2 separate regions of the Homo sapiens genome follow, and region 2 is linked to region 1. The links are contacts of gene promoters, found by promoter capture Hi-C in human tissues and cell types (Jung and others, 2019). All regions are on one chromosome and are shown on one strand. Each heading gives the region's core, a stretch centred on a gene start or on the middle of the fragment in contact. The rest is flanking DNA. Distances are from core to core; before and after follow the strand shown. Region 1 holds the start of AXL (AXL receptor tyrosine kinase). Region 2 overlaps LOC124904790.

What was found. The method cuts DNA at HindIII sites, captures the fragments that hold promoters and counts their contacts. A contact is called where the count stands out against the background at its distance.
Region 2: a fragment that was not itself captured here is called in contact with the fragment with the promoter of AXL in region 1 in 2 of the 25 tissues and cell types used here (heart right ventricle and thymus).

The regions. Positions count from the first base shown.
Region 1 is chr19:41,216,842-41,221,367 of GRCh38, reverse strand. It overlaps AXL (AXL receptor tyrosine kinase), which reads right to left and starts at 2,145. Exons shown (of 20, transcript NM_021913.5): 1 at 1,891-2,145; 2 at 510-732; 3 at 122-222. The coding sequence starts at 1,975. RefSeq lists a silencer at 2,432-2,571 and an enhancer at 2,180-3,004. The HindIII fragment of the contact is 32,353 bases long and covers 1-4,526 here.
Region 2 is chr19:41,170,867-41,175,708 of GRCh38, reverse strand. All of the region lies in intron 2 of LOC124904790, which reads left to right. Among named protein-coding and RNA genes, the nearest start is that of CYP2S1, 20 kb to the left of the region's middle. RefSeq lists an enhancer at 1-127. The HindIII fragment of the contact is 4,900 bases long and covers 324-4,842 here.

The DNA of each region.
Region 1 (4,526 bases), core at 896-3,395:
TAGGTTCATCCTGAATCCTCCAGCACCCTTTGACCTTGACCCCTCAGGATTCCTGACTTCCCACAACCTATGAGCGCCACATGTCCTCTGACCCCTCAGGACCCCTGACCCCAGAGCTCACCCTCCAGCCCAACATAGCCAGGCTGGGACACGAAGGTCTGATGTCCCAGAAACACCAAACACTGGTACTGTCCCGTGTCGGAAAGCTGCAGGGAGGTGATTCTGACAGGGCAAGAGGAGAGACAGAGAGGTTCAGGGTCAGAGCTGGACACTGGGAGGGGGTCTGTCAGAACGGAAAGAGGGTGTCCAGTCTGGAAGCTCATGACAACCACGAAGTATGTCCTATTATTAACTCATTTTGCAGAAGAGGAAAACGAAACCTAGAGGTTCCATCACATGCTCAAAGCCGCACGGCTGACAAGTGGTCAAACTGGGGTTCCCACCCAGGTGGGCTTTCTGCCCTCTGTGTGACGGAGGTGGGAGTGGGATTCGGGGATGTGGCCACACACCTGAGCTGGCTGACCACTATCCAGTCATCCTGTTCATCCTCACCCAGGGGCACCTGGGTCTGGGTGCTGTCCGCGAGCTCCAGGATCTGTCCATCCCGAAGCCAATGTACCTCGGGGGGCTCTCCCTGAACCTGGAGCTGACACCGAAGGGTGCCCGTGAGTCCCCGGGCACCTGTGATATTCCCTGGGTTGCCCACGAAGGGACTTTCTTCAGCCTGCGTGCCTGGAGGGGAGATGGGAAGAGTTAGCTTAGGAACCCCCCAGCTCCTTCCGGCCCTCAGTTCCACCCTGTCCTTGCCTGCCCACCGGCGGCCAGGACCCCGCCAGGCCCTTAGGCCGACATAGTTGCAGAGTGACCTCAGAGTGGGGTGGAGGGCGGAGGCTCTGAGAGGAGGACGGGAGCCCTCCCAAGGGACTGGGATCTAGCGTCCATCCCGTCGGGAAGGAGGCTCGGGATCTGGCAGCCTCCCACGCCCTGCACTGCCTGGCAGGGCCAGCCCCTGCCCCCTCCGTCCTCTCTTAGGTCTCTAGAGACTTAACAGGTCGCGCTGGTGCTGGTGGATGGAGGGGAAGAATCAGGGGTTGGGGGAGAGAGATAAGGGTGGTGGTGGGGGGAGATAAGGGTGGTGGCGGAGGGAGAAGCCAGAGAAAGGCAGGGGAGATGAGACAGAGAGGAGCACAGATACAAGGCAAGACAGAAAAAATGAAGAAACAGCCCTCAAGAGAGAAGAAAAGGTGGGGGCGGAGGGGGGATACAGTCACAGAGGGAGGCTGAGAAGAGAGAGAGAGACTCAGAGAGCAGGGAGAGATAAAGGCAGAGACTGTGAAAGAGAGAGAAACAGAGACCCACAGAGATAGCAGAGCTGGAGGCAGAGACAGAGAGACAAAGTGAGAGCCTCCTCCCCAGAGATGGAGTGGACTGGTGGGGTAGGGACAAGTGGCGGGTCAGGGGGGTGGTGTTGGCAGGGAGAAGCGTTTTCCCCCAGGGCTCCAGAGCCCTCCTCATCCCACTGCCTGACTCGGTGCCCCTTCGGAAAGATTTCTTCCTTCCTGGCGACCCTCAGCTCAGCCCCTCTCCCCATGGCCCCCTTCTCAGGTCCAGCCCCCACCCCTGCCCTCAGCTTCTCCTTGTCTGTCTGTCTCTCCGGGTCCTCTCTTCTGTCCCCCCTGCCCTTCAGTTCCTCTCTCAGTCTTTCTCTCCCTCTGCCGCACTTGGTGTCTCTGAGTCTGTGTCTCCCTCCCTTGAAGTCCCTTTTCTGTGGTCCCAAGGAAACTCCCTAAGCCAGCCCAGGCCCCCCACACCTGCCATCATCCCCCACCTCCTACCCCTGCCCCAGCCCCTCCGAGGGGATCCCTGCCCCAAGGAGCCCCCATCACTCACCCCTGGGGGCCATGCACGCCCAGCCGCACAGCGCCAAGCACCAGGCCAGCGGGACCCTGCCCATCCTGGGGCACCGCCACGCCATGGGTGCCAAACTTTCCTCAGAAGTTGTTGGGCTCCCAGCGGGGGAGGGGGCAGGGCCGGGCTGTCCCCGGCCCTCCCCCCAGCTCCAGGCTCCCCGGATTTGGCACTGCCTGCCTGGCACAGCGGCAGGGGAGGCCCTTGCCACCGGCTCTGCCCAGCAGCCGCCTTCTCAGCACCCCTGCCTCCTTCCCTCACTCCCAGACTTGGGCAACCCTTTCTCCGCCCCTGGCTCCCCCTTTGCCTCCGCCCACCAGGGCCAGAGCCCAGGGGCCACCTGGACAATCAGGGGTTAACTCAAGAGAGGAGAGGATCAGCTCTTTCTTAAAGGGGCCAGGGAGGGAGCTGAGGAGGGGGAAGGGGACCCTGGTGGCTGTGCCCCCTGTCCTGAGCCAGTGAGGCCGTGTCTCTCTATCCGGGCTCTGGGCGCTGTCCCTCTGGGCTCTGTGTCTGGTAAACATTCCTCCAGAACTCCACTCCCCTCTCAGCTCAGGCCGTGACGCCCCTCTCCCCGCCTCCACCCCCAGCCCAGCCCCAGCCAGGCCTCCTTGGCCCTTCATTCCCCCTCACTCTCTCGGCTCCTCGGACAAGGACACACACACACACACACACACGCACGCACGCACGCACGCACACACACTCTTAGACGTCACTGACACACACAGGCTAGGACAAGCAGAGACACGCAGAGGGACCCAGACGGGCAGGGGCATGCTACTGGCCCACAGACACACTCAGACAAGCCAGGCCAGGAGCTCGATTCCTGGAGAAACCTCAGAGACAGGAGGACACGGCTGGGTGGGCATCCATGGGGGACACTTACTTGGGGAGACACAGATCTTCAGACACGCCAAAACCTGCATGGACGCCTAAATGGGACACCAAATACAGGCGACATGAAGGGGACCCAAGTTGGAATCCCAGTGCTACCACTAACTGTGGGCTACAGGCAAGTGACTGGCCTCCTGAGCCTCAGTTTGTCCATCTGTAAAATGGGAATAAGAATAGTTGTTGGCCGGGCACAGTAACTCACTCCTGTAATCCCAGCACTTTGGGAGGCCAAGGTGGGAGGATCGCTTGAGCCCAGGAGTTCGAGACCAGACTGGTCAATGCACTGAGACCCCCATCTCTACAAGAAGTTTAAAAATTAAAACTTAACCAGGTATCATGGCGTGTGCCTGTGGTCCCAGCTACTAGGGAGGCTGGAGTGAGAGGAACGCTTGAGTCCAAGAGATCGAGGCTGCAGTGAGCCCTGATCATTCCACTGCTCTCTCCTTCTGGTGGGACTGTGTGTCCTGGTTATTGCAGATCTGCTGCCTGCGTATCGGCTCTGCTGCACTTCCATTCCTCGGCCCTGTGTGTTTGGCACGTGGAGGGCTCTGCATGCCTGGATGTCTGTGAGGAGGAGGCTGGGCGTCTATCCCTCTGCTCTTGGCCACCTGTGTTTGGGTACTGGTATACCTACGGTGCATCATAAAGTCCTATCTGTTTGGCCTCCTGATGTCTCTTCTACCTGCCCCTTCCCAGCACCCCCGTCTGATCCTGCCTTCTCCTGCCTCTACTGTCACTCCTTTCTCCCATTTAGCAACCAGAGGACTGTTTCTGAAAGTCAAATCCTACCCTGTCCCTTCTCTGCTTGCCCATGGCCTCCTGCTGCCCTCAGGGCAAGCTCCCAGCTCCTTGTCACTGGCCACTTAGGGCCCTTCACCGTTGTCTCCCTGGGCTGTGTCTTTTTTTTTTTTTTTTTTTTTGAGACCCAGTCTTGCTTTGTTGCCCAGGCTGGAGTGCAATGGCTCGATCTCGGCTCACTGCAACCTCCATCTCCTGGGTTCAAGTGATCCTCCCACCTCAGCTTCCTGAGTTGCTGGGATTACAGGTGTGCACCACCATGCCAGGTTAATTTTTGTATTTTTGGTAGAGACGGGGTTTCACCATGTTGGCCAGGCTGGTCTGGAACTCCTGAACTCGTGATCTGCCCGCCTCGGCCTCCCAAAGGGCTGGGATTACAGGCGTGGGTCACTGTGCCCGGCCATGGGCTGCTGGCTTCTGTTGCTCCTTCCAACCTGTCTCCCACTCAACAGTCAGAAGGCTTCTTCCCAATCTCAAACCAAACCCTTTCCCACCTCTGCCCCAAACCTTTCAGCAGAACCCTAAACTCCTTATGTTTCTGTGACCCTCCCCTCGCCTCCCCAGGCTTCTCTCGCTTTCTCACCCAAAGAGCCCCCTCAGAGGACTTGGAGCAACCTCCTGCAGCACTTTGTCCCCAACTCTATCATCCCTTCTCCATCGCATCACTGCCTGGCCCCCCCAGCCCAATCTAGGTCCTCATATTGTTCACTCCCAACATGCTGTCCCTTTCCTTGGCAACACTTTGCCTGGGTTGTCATTATATATTTATTGGCATGATTATGTGTCTCACATCTGTCTCCTCCCACTGGCCTGTGGGCTCTGCGGGGGAAGGGACTGGGTATATTTTGGGAACTGCTGCATCTTCACCGCCCTGTAAAAGGCCTGCCATAAAGGGGACAATTCCTTATTGTGGCATTTTTTTTTTC
Region 2 (4,842 bases), core at 1,524-4,023, 46 kb after region 1:
CTGTCGCCCAGGCTGGAGTGCAATGGTGCGATCTTGGCTCACTGCAACCTCCGCCTCCTGGGTTCAAGTGATTCTCCTGCTTCAGCCTCCTGAGTAGCTAGGATTACAGGTGCGCACCACCACACCCAGCTAACTTTTGTATTTTTAGTAGAGACGGGGTTTCGTCATGTTGGTCAAGCTTGTCTCGAACTCCTGACCTCAGGTGATCCATTTGCCTCGGCCTCCCAAAGTGCTGGGATTACAGGCGTGAGCCGCCGCTCCCGGCCTCAAAACAGACCAATTTAACAGCATTCCACCGATGTCCATGCTGAACCATGGGAATGGCGGCCTGTTCTTTCTCCTGGAGTCCATCCTCCTCTGCAGCCAGAATTCTTAGCCGGAGAGTGGTGCTGAGGGAGCACCCCACTGCGTCTTTTATGTGACTGGCCAAGTTGTCCAACCTCAGTTTTCCTCATCTGTAAATGAAGCTTATAACTGTACCTAGCATCCATTAATACTCTGAGGGAGATACTAACATATCATCTCCATCTTCAGATGAGGAAACTGAGGTTCAAGGACCCTAGGTCACCTGCCCAGAGTCACACAGCCCCTAAGTGTCTATGGCTCTGGGATGCTCCTTCTCTCCTTCTCCCACTGCTCTCTTCGTCTGGGGGCATTGTTTTGCTCCACTCCTACCCCCCAACACTCCCAGAACAGAGTGGACCCTCTGGGCTGTGATGATGAAGAAATGAATGAGTGCACTCTACTCTGATACCCACCTTTCCATATCTCGGTGGGACCCAAACCACCCCCACACTCTCACCTGCCTCCACCCTGTACCGCCCTGACTTTCTGCACTCGGCACACAGGCACCAGGGGGTGCCCCCAGCCTGCAAGTCACCCCATTGGGCTTTTGGAGAATGGGGCAGGGGGAGAGAAGGAGAATGGTCCAGAGACAGACTGAAAACCCTGGAGGTGAGGGGTGTGCAGAGAACCAGAGAGAGACGGACAGTAATCCTTTCTCTTCTTCTTCTTCTTCTTCTTCTTCTTCTTCTTCTTCTTCTTCTCCTCCTCCTCCTCCTCCTCCTCCTCCTCCTCCTGCTCCTCCTCCTCCTCCTCCTCCCTGGATTCCACTTTTACGCTGGCTCGGGATATGTGACCTTGGGCCTATAACTGAACTTCTCATCAGCAGATCGGGGATGACATGTGAGTGCAGCCCTCAGAGGTTTATGGGGATCATATGATGAATACCTGCGCAGCGTTTAGGCGAATACTTGCACGTAGCCAACGTGTGCCAGCTGGCGTTCACTGCCCTTCTGCTCTCCATGCTTTTTCTGTGCTAGGTGTGGCACCGAAATCTTACAACAGCCCGAAGTCGGCACCTTTATGATCTCCACTTTATTATGCTTTTCATAGGAATTCAGTTACATAAGTAATAGATGATTATGGGTTGATTACAAATTTCAGCCGGGTACGGTGGCTCAGGCCTTTCGGAGGCCAAGGTGGGAGGATCGCTGGAGCTCAGGAGTTCGAGACCAGCCTGGGCAACATAGCAAGGCCCCCATCTCTAGAAAAAATTTAAAAAATTTAAAAATTAGCTGGGTGTGGTGGCAGACGCCTGAAGTTCCACCTACTTGGGAGGCTGAGGAGGGAGGATCGCTCAAGTTCGAGGCTGCAGTGAGCCATGATCGCGCCATGGCCCTCCAGCCTGGGCAAAAGAGCAGGACCTTGTCTCCAAAAAAGGAAAGAGAAAAATAAAATTTCAAAGACTACAGAAAAATAACTCCCTTTCTCCCTTCAACCCACTATTCCCTGGCTGCTGTCTATTTCAGTCCCACCCCCAGCTGTCCATCGCCGGCCACTCCTGCCATTACTATTGTTCTAAAGCTGCCAGAGTCAGCCTGGCCTGGTTCTATTCTTTTCTATCTTTCTAGAAGGTAAGACCCACTCTGGGTGGGTCAGGAGGTTAGTGTGTTACTTTTTTTTTTTTTTTTTTTTGAGACGGAGTCTCGCTCTGTCACCCAGGTTGGAGTGCAGTGGTGCGATTTTGGTTCAATGCAACCTCTGCTTCCTGGGTTCAAGTGATTCTTCAGCCTCAGCCTCCGGAGTAGCTGGGATTACAGGCATGTGCCACTATGCCCAGCTAATTTGTGTATTTATAGTGGAGATGGCGTTTCACCATGTTGGCCAGGCTGGTCTCGAACTCCTGACCTCAAATGATCTGCCTGCCTCGGCCTCCCAAAGTGCTGGGATTACATGCGTGAGCCACTGCGCCCGGCCTCTATGCGTTACTTTGGAGAAGTCACGTTCCTCTTTACACACCCATGTGTCCAAATGTGAAGTCCATTCCATCTCCATTTAGTTCCAGTTTTTATTTCAACATGCTGCAGCTTCCAGAATAAGGAGTAGCTGGAGAAGATCCAGAGTGTGGCATGCAGAAAGCCCCTCCACCAGTGCCAGGCACTGAGGCCCCAGGGAACTCCTGACCTCCGCTCCTTTATGCAGAGTTGATGCCAGGCCTGCATCCAGGCCTGACTGGGTGATGCTGGGGAGGCAGTAGAGACAGAGACAGCCCTACCCCCATGGGGCCCACAGTCCAGTTGAGGAGGCAGGTTAGTCACCAGACCTTGACTGCCCAGAGTGGTCGGGGCTGGGATGGGGGAGGCCAGGGGGCCTGTGGGAGCCCAGAGTAAGTGCCTGCCCTGGCCGGAGAGTGGTGAGTATCAGGGAGGGCTTCCTGGAGGAGGGGATACATGGATCTGAAGAATGACTCGAGAAAGATCATGGGGAAGAGTGTTCCTGCAGGGGGAATAGCATGTTGGGTGGCTGAGAGGGTAGCAGGAGGGATTGGAGGAGACCAGGGTTTTTGATGATGATTTCAGCACAGAGTGCTGGGGCTGTGGGGGAGGTGGGGGAACTGATTTCTCACCTCAGGGAGGGGCAGGACTTTGGAGGAGAGAGGAGAGCAAACATTCCAGGTGGGGAAACACCTGTTACAAGCCATAAGAGGGAGTGTATGGCGCTGGAGGCCCAGCAAGGCCAGTGTGGTTTAGCACAGATCCTTGCTGTGGACACAGAGTTGGGAGTCCTTGGCAGACAGACAGCAGATTCTGCAGCTCTGTGAGTGACCAGGCTCACCTGGGAGAGAGGGTGAGAAGAGGACCTGGTTTCTAGCATGTGGAGGTGGGGTGGGGGAGAAGGCAGAGCAAGGGAGACTGAGGGTGGGGACCCAGGAGGTGGAACACCGCCACCACCAGGAAGCTGGAGGAGGGGCTCTCAGCCAACTCCCCACCAGAATTTGTATTGTATAATTCTAAAAACGATGTCTGGTTAACATTTATTTTTATGTTCAAATGTATCTTTTTAGAATATTGTGCCAGTCTTGAAGATCACTGGAGATACTTCTACCTTCACCTACAATTTTCTTTCTTTCTTTTTTTTTTTTTTTGAGACAAGGTCTCACTCTCTTGCCCAGGCTGGAGTGCAGTGGCACGATCTCAGCTCCCTGCAACCTCAACCTCCCAAGCTCCAGTGATCCTCTCACTTTAGCCTCCCAAGTAGCTGGGACTACAGGCGCATGCCACCAGACTGGGCTAATTTTTGTATTTTTTGTAGAGACGGGGTTTCACCATGTTGACCAGGCTGGTCTGGAACTCCTGGACACAAGTGATCCGCCCGCCTTGGCCTCCCAAAGTGCTGGGATTAAAGGCGTGGGCCTCCGTGCCCGGCCCTGTTTTACTCTTTTCCTGGTGCCTTTTTTTTTTTTTTTGAATTGGAGTTTCGCTCTTGTTGCCCAGGCTGGAGTGCAATGGCGCGATCTCGGCTCACCGCAACCTCTGGCTCCCAGGTTAAAGGGATTCTCCTGCTTCAGCCTCTGAGTAGCTGGGATTACAGGCATGTGACACCACACCCAGCCAATTTTGTATTTTTAATAGAGATGGGGTTTCTCCATGTTGGTCAGGCTGGTCTCAAACTCCCCATCTCAGGGATCTGCCAAACTCCCCATCTCAGGGATCTGCCGCCTTAGCCTCTCAAAGTTCTGGGATTACAGGCGTGAGCCACTGCGCCCAGCCCTTCCTGGTGTCTTTGATGAACTACATTTGAATGTAGTCCAATTTATCAATCTTTTCAGTAATGTTTGTGCTTTTTTGTGTCATTTTTAAGAACACTTTTTCTCTCTTGGGGGCATAAAGATACCCTTCTAGATTATCTGTTAAAGCTTTTATTGTTTAGCTTTTCACATTGAGATATATGATCCATCTGGAATTAATATTTGATGTGATGTCAGGTAGGTTTCGAATTTCCTTTTTCCCCGTAAAGGTATTCAATGTCTCAGTCTCATTATGGAAAAGACCACCCTTTCCTCATGGTTCTGTAATACCATCCTTGGCATCAACCAGAAGTGGGTTCTTATTTTGGGCTGACTAATCTCTTCCATTGGTCTCTGTTCATGTTTGGGTAATTCTACACTGTCCTAATTACCATAGCTCCCTAGTAAGTTTGATATCAGGTAGAGTAAGTCCTCTTATTTAGTTTTTGTTTTTTCGGAGTCTTGCTCTGTCACCCAGGCTGGAGTGCAGTGGCGTGATTTCGGCTCAGTGCAACCTCTGCTTCCTGGGTTCAAGCGATTCTCATGCCCTAGCCTCCCAGGTAGCTTGCATTACAGGCACCTGCCAGCATGCCTGGATAATTTTTGTATTTTTAGTAGAGATGGGGTTTCACCATGTTGGCTAAGCTGGTCTTGAACTCCTGACCCCAAGTGATCCACCCACCTTGGCCTCCTCAAGTGCTGGGATTACAGGCATGAGCCACTGTGCCTGGCTGCTATTTTATGTATGATTTTTACATCCAAGTTTGGTAGTG